Linked DNA regions of Homo sapiens: regions 1 and 3 are each linked to region 2. Evidence: promoter capture Hi-C in 16 types of primary human blood cells and fetal thymus (Javierre and others, 2016). All regions are on one chromosome and are shown on one strand. The core of a region is centred on a gene start or on the middle of the fragment in contact, and the rest is flanking DNA. Distances in the headings are between cores, read along the strand shown.

Evidence for each region. The method cuts DNA at HindIII sites, captures the fragments that hold promoters and counts their contacts. A CHiCAGO score of 5 or more calls a contact.
Region 1: a fragment that was not itself captured here is called in contact with the fragment with the promoter of GRIA4 in region 2 in 4 of 17 cell types (M0 macrophages, monocytes, megakaryocytes and 1 more); the score reaches 6.7 in M0 macrophages.
Region 3: a fragment that was not itself captured here is called in contact with the fragment with the promoter of GRIA4 in region 2 in 2 of 17 cell types (neutrophils and monocytes); the score reaches 5.8 in neutrophils.

Annotation. Positions count from the first base shown.
Region 1 is chr11:104,606,574-104,609,992 of GRCh38, forward strand. It overlaps LINC02552 (long intergenic non-protein coding RNA 2552), which reads right to left and starts at 2,729. Exons shown (of 4, transcript NR_120585.1): 1 at 2,664-2,729. The HindIII fragment of the contact is 1,713 bases long and covers 1,152-2,864 here.
Region 2 is chr11:105,608,471-105,611,831 of GRCh38, forward strand. GRIA4 (glutamate ionotropic receptor AMPA type subunit 4) reads left to right here and starts at 1,603. Exons shown (of 17, transcript NM_000829.4): 1 at 1,603-1,958; 2 at 2,438-2,615. The coding sequence starts at 2,528. RefSeq lists a silencer at 2,579-2,779. The HindIII fragment of the contact is 4,294 bases long and covers 1-3,138 here.
Region 3 is chr11:104,589,783-104,592,837 of GRCh38, forward strand. The region is part of intron 1 of LINC02552 (long intergenic non-protein coding RNA 2552); the gene reads right to left. Among named protein-coding and RNA genes, the nearest start is that of LINC02552, 18 kb to the right of the region's middle. The HindIII fragment of the contact is 3,654 bases long and covers 1-3,055 here.

The sequences.
Region 1 (3,419 bases), core at 758-3,257, 1.0 Mb before region 2:
TAGAGATGGGATTTCACCATGCTGGCCAAGATATTCTTGATCTCCTGACCTTGTGATCCACCTGCCTCGGCCTCCCAAAGTGCTGGGATTATAGGCGTGAGCCACCGTGTCCAGCCGGTTTTCTTTTCTTAAAATGCTTTTTTTGTTTGTTTGTTTTAGTGTCAGAGTAATGCTAGCATCATTAACTGATTAGGAAAGTATTCCATACTTTTCAATTTTTGGAAGAGTTTGTATAGAATTAGCATAACTTTTTCTATCAATTATTGAGAGTGGGATATTGAAACCTTAAACTATTTTTTGAATATGTGTCTCCTTGCAGCTTTATCTATTTTCGTTTCATGTATTTTGAAGCTCTGTTACTACTTGCATAAATACTTCACAATGCTATATCCTCTTGATGAACTGACCCTTCTGGATGGTGAAGAAAAATAAAATATTCTTGGCCTAACCTGAGCTCCAAGAATTGTTCCCCTTAGTCCTTCCAGAGGTTCATTCTTCAGTTTCGAGTAGATTTCACCCACACGTGTGCAGATGAGTTCTCTCCTGAAACACTTGAGAAAGACCTGATAGAAATTGCCAGAGTTTTCTCCCCATGCAGCTCTCCCCTCGCTCATGCTCTGTGAACCCTAGCTGCTTTTGTCTGGGAACTCTCAGCTGTCTCCTCAACTCTACAAGAATGCCAGACGCTGCCTGTGTTTCTTATGGCTCACCTAGGTCTAGGAGATTTAACTGATTACTTAATCTTTTATCTAAAACAAACCATACTAATTTGTACAAATACCTTTAATTCTGTGTGAAATTATTTTTATATTCTTTATTTAAGAAAATGTGATGTTGTATCTCTGTCTTAAATCATCAAAAATATAATGACAGAAAAATTAAAAGAAAGAATAACAGAGGAAACATATGGATAACACTTGAATTAATTCACCATTCCAGTGTCAGGAAGATAGTTTCTGCAAACATTTAAAAAATCTATGTATTCTGACGAGTTGATGTCTTGTGATGGTTTTACAAGAAGAATCAAATATAAATATCATGTTGTAAAAGATTAATATGCATGCATCTGCTTTAAATAGAACAAGGCTAAAGAACATTTTGTTCTTGTTACTGCTTCTCAATAAGTTTGGTAGTTCAGTTTAACTCAGGTAAGCTTTCTAAATGTCTAGCATCTTGTCCAAGCTCATAACAAAGATGTTCAAATGCCTTGGCACCCTCCTATTATTATTCCTTCCTGCTCTCCTCATAACCTTTTATTTTCTCATTTTTCATTTAACCATTCCTGGACCTCACTCTCATCTTGCAATATCTAATAAGCCTTTACTAAGGACTGAACATGTGAGGGCCAGATTTGTGAACTGGACTTTTCTCTCTGTAGATTTTTCAATTAGGTTTTCACAATGCCCTAGTTTCACTGAGTCAGTAAAACTCCCAGATGTTTCCATTCTTTATGTATCTCTCCTTGTATCCCTCATCTCTGTCATAATTTTAGAGACCCTCTTGACATTTAAAAAATTTGGAAACAACAGTTTCTTATTTCTGCCTAAGAAGACTTAAGATATTTCTGTAAAGATTTGGTTGGACACATATAGACATTTATTCCAAATTAAATCAGTGGTCTTCTTCAGATTGAGTTCCAAGCTGTAAACTTCAAAGGATAAGTTCTGCTTTACTAACTGTAATGCCAAACCAATTATTTTATAAAAACAATTAAATTGTCATGAACATAAGATTTCATATCCTGAAAGAATAGGAATAAGTTCTATTTTCACAATTAGTTTTCTATGTATAGTCCTCAACCACAATGCCTGTGAACCACCATCCTGGGAAATAAACTTTTCTTGAGATCTCAAAGCAAATGAAGACAAGTAACCAGCATGGCACAAATGCTTCTCTGCTACTACGTGGATTCTTTTATAGACACTGATTATATATTAAGATATTAATTTTATCCATTTACACTCATCAAAAAAGAAATATATGGTCCACATACTTAAATTCAACTTCTTTCTTAGAGGCAATGGACTAAGTACAATCACAAGCAATAGACAAACATCATAACTTTAATTTTTGGCTGTAAAAATGGAATAAAAACAGTAATTGTATTCATCATCGCTTGATGAAGTCTTTAAAATGTTACTTTTATTCTAGGAAGAATGTAGGCAACCTCTAAAGGGTTGATGTGGCAAGAAAGACACTGATATTTTTTCTGGGAAAAAAATACCTTGGCTCTGAACGAAAAAGAATATTGCTGAAATTATAGTTAGGAGCCTAGTTCTCCTATTGTTAGAGCTCTTTTAGGACATTTTATGATATTTTCTACAAGCACAGGACTGTGGCTATTTAGCTTGGTTTCTATTATGCCTTTCTTGGCATCATGTAGGATAACTAGCACATCTTATAGGACACCAGTGAAAGACAAAATAGACAACACAAAAATCGTATGGCATTCCTCAAACTGTTTTATGTGAAAAAGAAAGGCTGTCTTATACTATTCAAATCCCTAGACGAATATGTCAAAATAAGAGTACGAGAGGAAGGGGTTATTTCAAGGATATCCCACATATAGACAACATGGTGCATTGTGACATCGTTATATAAATATTAATAGTGCCAGAATACTAATCCCTTCATCGGGGAGGAAATATTCTAAATTCACTTACCTCTTGCAGCACTTTCCTACATAGTACTGTAGACACAGCCCATTGGCATCCTAGAGATGGCATTCTGAAGAGAAAGCAGGATCTCAACTCCTCTCAAGGTGTTCCTCCCTCCCTTGAAGGTCAGGATGTCTTGTGCTGGCACATCCTTTGGTGGGTCAGTAGATGGCAGTGTGTCTGAATCTAGTATGTATGGTAGGGGAAAGCTTTTTAGCATTTCCCAAGAAAATGAAGGTTTTGAAAGCTGTGAGGCAGCATGGGGCCTAGTGCATGGGCCAGAAGACTTGATCTTTATTTCTGGCTCAACTCCTGAATACATTTACTTGAGTAAATGGACACCAGCCACTTAACTTTTGTGTTCTTTGCTTTCTTGAACTTGAAATTAGACAAAATACTCTGCCTCTTCCCATCTCCCTCACAAGGACCCTGTGAGTTTAATCAGACTTCAGATTAGTTTCCGTTCTTTGAAGAAAAGACTCCTTATGAATTTGCTATGCTATTTATAATGTCAGTGGCAAAATTGATCTGGGTTGTTCTTCTGGGACTTGAAGTAAATAAACACAGAGGCATTTGGCAAGAAGGATCTTCTGTATTTCTGTGCCATAAAATGTTGGTGTATTTTGGTTTTAAGTAGCAGCACTGGATCTCAGGATGCAAAATTATTCTTGTTACTTGGAATTAAAATAACTTCCTCCATTCCATGGAACTTGACAATTACGGAAGGAAGCCAATAGGCCTCTGGCACCTTCCCAATTTAAA
Region 2 (3,361 bases), core at 353-2,852:
GTTAATAATTGCCTCTGGATCAGGAAGAGCTTCACTAGTTACCCAAGCAAGTGATGAGTTTAACAGTTTGGTGGATTTTGAAATTTTAATTTAACTTGAATTTTATGTGTCATACTCTATTATCCTTTTTCAAGAGAAAACAGAATGCTATTATTCACAGCCTTGTTTTTTAACACAGAAAAATAAAAAAAGGAAAAATGCTTCAAATTTCACTTGACTTGCAAGACTAAAACTTCACAAACTAAAATGACAAATGTATGATTTGTAAAATACAGTTACAATTAGGTTTTTTTTTTCATAACAATCTGTGGTGAAATGTAACGGGAAAGCAGACACTTATTTTAAAGATGCAATTTTAAAAATAAAATTCAAAACTTAGGAAATAGAAAAGCACTCAAGTTTTAGCAGGGATTTTAAAATGTCATCTACAAACTACAAATACAGGTAATCAGTGACACCAAATAAAGTATTTTGAAAGAGTTAAGGTAATGTATATTTCAAAAAGCCGTTACCAGGCTTTCTGTAAGTCCCTTGCAAGAATTCCACTTTAAGCATTGTAGTCTCAAATATTATATCAGGCAAACCTAGGCATTTGCTATATTCTTTTTAAAAATTTAATGGCAGACATCACCCTAGGTTCCCTAACGTTTAAGGAGAACCTCTCCTTCTAATGATTCTCTCACACAGCTTATTGGAACAGGAGATTGTATTTACTAACTAGATCAGGAAATCTCAAACCATACAGAGGAAATCAGAAACCGGTCACTCACGGCTACCACAGTGACTGCTTCTGAGTGTGGTTCAAGCTCAGTCCAGGACAGGCAGATGAAAGGACAATCTTAAAGGTGACTCTGGAGAGCAAGTGAGACTGTAACCCCAAAACTTTCTAGGATAATTCATTTTCACTTCTACCCAGTCAAAACAACTATTGACATCATCACTGAAGTGCTTAAGTCTACCTGGAGGTGGCGTGGAGCAGAGTGAGCATTCCAGAGTCCCAGACAAGAGGAGATGTGCACGAAACACTATCTTCCTGTCAGACACCTGTGCCCACTGCCCCAAGCACTGCCCCTCTGGTCCTTCATCAGCCTTTGCGCTGTGTCCCTCCTGCTCCTGCAATGGGCCACAGCACAGAAGGAAAGAGTCCTCCGGAATGGGTGACTGTATAGAAAGCAATCGAATCTTTAATCACTTTTCCTACTTTACACTTCACGCAGTTCTTATTCCTATCCCTGCTTCATGCCTTTCCAAGAGAATGTTAGAGGCCTCTTTCAATTTTCATTTCTCAGTCTTTTCCCCATCCCGTTCAGTACCCTAAACTTCGTCAGTTATTTAAAATAACCTTTTACCCCCTCCTCCCCTTCCCAGGATGTTTCAACTTCTCTGGCTCTCTTCCCCATCCTTACCTCCTCCAATTCTTTCATCCTGGTCCTGGCCTCTTAAACCCGCCAGGGGCTGCCCTTTGCCTGTCTTTTCTCCTCCCATCCCTCTCTGAACCCTTTCACCTCATCCATTCCCTTGTCAGGCTCTCCAGATTCCCGGGCTGTTTGCTGGTGAGAAATCTTTGCTGCAGCGAGGACCGGAGTCCCCCGCGCGCAGCCCAGTGGCAGAAGAGGGCTAGGCTGAGAGGGAAGCCAGGACTGTAGGAGAGGGAGGCAGCCCGTCCTCCTCACGAACCTGCAAGGATGCGGCAGGGGCCTGGGGGCATGGGGAGGTACTAACCCCCCGGAGCCCCCGATTGGGGCTTGCAGACCTGGCCCGTGGGCGGATTTTCTGCCTAGCGCAGCCGAGAAGCAGAGGTGCCAGGAAAACCAAGAGAGGGGCGCTGGGGGTGCCCATCCCCAGAGTCGGTCCCTCTGCGAACCGAGGAAGAAAAGAGGAGGGAGTCAGCGAGTGGTCAGAAGGGAAAACCTGACACCAGACTGGCTCCGGAGCGTCCGGGAGACTGGGGCGCTCCGGTGAGCACCCAGGGGGTGAAGCCAGCCGAGCGGTGGGCGAGGGGCGTGCGGAGGGAGTGCGCGCTCGAGGAGGGGACGCCAGGAGGGCAGCGATGCTCCGGGCTGGTGCAGGCTTGCTGGGGGATGTCGGCTGATGCGAGCTGGAGAGCGCGTGTGGCGGCCGCGGCGCCAGTGTTTGTGTGTATGTGAGAAAGCAAGGGGCGAGCGCGAGTGCGAGTGAGGCAAAGATAGAGCGCATGTCTCATCCCTGCGAGCAGCCACTAGACGCTCCACCACCATCTTTTGCATGTGCAACATTTGCAGCCGGACAGAAAACCTCTCCCAGGGCTATGGAGACTGCGGGAAAAATCTGGCGGCTCGCGATGGATTGCTAAGGAGAACTAGTCATAATCTTAAACCACCGAAACCTCTTTCCTTTTTTTTCTTTCTTTTCTTTCTTTTCTTTTTTTTTTTTTTTTTTTGGTTGATTTTAATTTTAGCGCCATCGTCTTCAATGCTTCTCTGAACAGCCTTTAGGAAGAGTGCGAGAGAAAGAGAGAGAGCGCGCGCCAGGGAGAGGAGAAAAGAAGATGAGGATTATTTCCAGACAGATTGTCTTGTTATTTTCTGGATTTTGGGGACTCGCCATGGGAGCCTTTCCGAGCAGCGTGCAAATAGGTAAGGTGTGCTCCGATGGGGTGTGCATGTGGCTGGTTGTAGCAGATATCCGAAAGTGAGTTAAATGAGTTGCTGATAAGCAATTCAGGGAAACCTTCAGCAGTTCCCTTCCCCTCTGTTTCCCTCCTCTTCCTTTCTCTCCTTTGCAAAAAGACTTCCTCTTTAGTGCAGGTTCCGTTGGAATACACCCAGGGCAGCCCACCCATGCGTTCTCAGCCCATAGCCCTATTTCCACCTTTACCTATAGTCGCTTAAGTAGGATTGAAATAAGTTGGGGGAAAGTCTTCGGGGAATTTGGTTGTATTTTATATGATATTTATTTCCATCCCTTTCTCTAAAGCATAAAGTGATGTCGAGTTTGTTTAAAAAAGAAAAAAAAAATCCACTTCTTCCCATTCTGGACGCCGCAGCTTTCTTGCTATTACAGAAAGACACTGTTTGAGGAAAAAGACATTTCCACCCGCACGCCCTGCCGTTTCTTGCTACCAGTTAGCAGATTCCAAAGTTAGATCCCTTTCCTGGAAGCTTCTCCCCTTTTATTTTGTTTTCTTCTTGAAGCTTTTGCCCTTATTTCTCTACCTCGACTCTGTTTCCAGGGACACCCTCCATCCTTGGCTTTTCTTGCTATTCTCCTCTACTGTCTTTTAATGGGACGCAGCTATTGAATTTCTTCCAGCTAAGCCCAGCCTCAACACTGCATCATTTCTCGTGGACTGTGCATAAAACGGAGTTAATTAGGCTGAGTC
Region 3 (3,055 bases), core at 544-3,043, 1.0 Mb before region 2:
GGACAAAGCTGTAGACTTAACAGACAGAGAGATCAACTTCAAAGACAATTAAATGCTCATCAAGGCTCTTCTCTCATGTTAAGGTAAGGGCTCCAGTAGGAAAATCCTAGAATGCTGGCACATTAGATGGAGAGGCCTGGGTGTATGCCATGAATCTTTCTGACTTCTCAAAGCCCTACTGAGTCTATAAAAATGACACTCCCATGAAGAGCTAGAATGCTCTAATACTCACTTCTTGTGTTGGTTAATAATTCAGAGGCTCTTTCCTGTAAGTCATCATGTGTGCCCCTCAGGATCTGCTCCCACGTCCCATCATGCCCACTGCTGCTATAACTGTGTTACGTTGTAGCATAACTTAGCTGGTTTTATAGTCAAAAGGAGCCACGTAAAATAGACATCATACACCAGCAAGTCCAGGGGGAGCATAAATGGGGTTGGATTCTGAGGGTGCTTAATCAAGGGGAATGAGTATAAAATAGGATAGGTAAGAGTTTCTTGACTTGTAAATACTCTCCTATGATGTAGAATTTAACATCCAGGCAATGATCCCAGGATATGGGGCAAACTAGAATGTCAACTAAAGGCACGTAAAAAGCAATGGACTATGCTGAATGAAGTCAAAGGGCTAAAAACTGGAGAAGTAGAAAAGGGAAAGGAATAAAAATGCTCTTGGAAGTGGGCAGGCGGGAAGTAGATACAGCATATATAGTCAGCAGGTCTAGCCAATGGGTATGGTATGCTTCATGGAAAGGCCCAGAGGATGTATTATTTATAAGGGCTATGAGGAATAACCTGGTGAGACAGGCACCAGCAACACTAAAACTTGTAGTATTGCCTTTACTTTGTGAACTATGACTGTTAGTTGGATAAACTAAAATGTGGCTTTCTGATAGCAGTGGGGTTAATAGGACCCACCTACACTTCAAAAAAAAAAATAGACGATAGGTGGTGGAGTTAACCACTAAATTTAATAGGTTACAATTATCTTATTATCCAGCAAGTTATAGTTGAAGTCAAGAGATCTGACCCACAGAGGATTATGAATTGGTAGATATTTATATAGTTATGGCACATGGCATCTCTATAGCAAGACAGATAGGTGGGCAACAAGGATATTACTCAGCTTGTACCAGCAGAAGAAATCAAGGATGGATGACCAGGAGGCTGAGGGTAGTTACCTCAATAAAAAAACATACCTTCCTCAATTCTCTAACCTGAGTCTGTTTCCTGTTCTCAAATCATTTGACCAAAAATAAAATTAGATCCTCCCAAGAGAAAGGAAGCTGCAACAACACAGTGAGTCTATTCCACAATGACTCTCATTCCTTCGCCGAAGGGATCCATAGCCAGTTATTCGAGTTAAACAATAAACTTGGAAAAAGGCATTATTCAAATACTTGTAGGACTACTGGACACAGGTCTTAATTGACATTGATGCCTGGAGATCCAAAGCATAATAATCATAGTACCATAGATGAGAGCTGGGTCATATGGGGCCACTAAGGTGTTCAATACATGTATGGGTGGATAAATATTTGTAAAAGTACCTGGCCTACATTAAAAATAAGAATCAACAAAGGCTAGTTAAATCTGTTAGCTGAATGCCACCAAGAAGCATAGATGAGCAAGATATCAGAGCAATATTTGTTTTAGGAATATAGGATTGGCTTGACTTTTGCAATTATTTGCTTTCATAATTACTTTTTAACCTAGGCTAACATTAAAATTAGTTATTATTCCCAAGGGCATAATGAATGCCAGTAAACAATGTCAAGGACAATTTTCTCAGAGCAGAAAATAAAGTAATACTGCAGTTGATTATTCATATGCAGATACTAGAGAGTTAGCTACCAGACAATGGTGATCAATAATAAAAAGAAATGTTGAGTTATTTCGTTCTGTGCAGATGACAGCTGCCCATAAGCTGTTGCCAAATCAGCACTCATAGAACATGGATACAGCCCCAGTATAATTTCTAAGCCCAGAGATTGGAAAAGTGACCACCTGCCCCTCTGCAATGCAGTGGAATTTTTCAGGACAGGTAAATTTGTCGAAATCTATATACTGCCACAATATTTAGATTGATTTATAAATTTCTCAAATAGTCATATGTTAGAAATGAAGAATTTTAATATTCTTCTTATGTGACCCTGTCATGATATAATCCAGTACAGTTGGTCTAGAGATGCTCTGGAATTATAAACAAAAGTCCAGAATCAGGTAGCATCCAAAGCCTTCAGGCATTTTTAATTTTACTGCACAATCCTACTCTAACTGCTGTTGCCAGAAAGGGTCGCCATAGGGTGTGATTTAGCATAATACTGATAGCCACAGTGCTCTAAAGGCTGAACACAGAGGGAAAATCCAGGAAGTAGCCTGGTTCAAGTAGGTCTCAATAACTGAGCCAGATTTTGTGTAAAGTTGGACATTATAAATGGTTCTTTGGGACATTTTCCCTTTTACTTCTGAAATGTTTTTCTTTTGTTCCTGAAAGTCAGATCAGATGCTCATTTAAAGAACTTTGCTATACATACGTGATCTTTTGAGGTTTCAGGGAAAGTGAATTCATTCTTTTAATATGCTTCTGTGGGCAGATTTTGGAGAGCAATGAAAATAATTTCATTCTCAAAGTATGCTGAAAATTTTATACAATAATGTGTTTTGATCTGGGGAAGAAAAGTTCAATTAAAATTATAAAAATAATACAATTGGAGCACTGAAAAATAGTTTCTTGTCAATGAATATTTCAAGACCATAATATTTCTTGAAATATTTTTATTTATAAATTAACCCAAAGGGATATGTTAGTTATAATAATATTAGACTTGCTCAAAAATTAATTTAAATATCAAAGTATATTTTATTAAAGTACTTGTAAAATAATCATTATACCTATGAGTAAGCAATTAGACAATTTTAATCTCAAACTGAAAACCTCAAAATTTACCTCTGCTAGCTTGTATTACCTTCTAGCATTCTCTAAGCAGTACTGATCTTGCTTTCAGATATGGTAACTATCCTCTCCCCACAATTTCATTGAACAAAATCCTAAGAC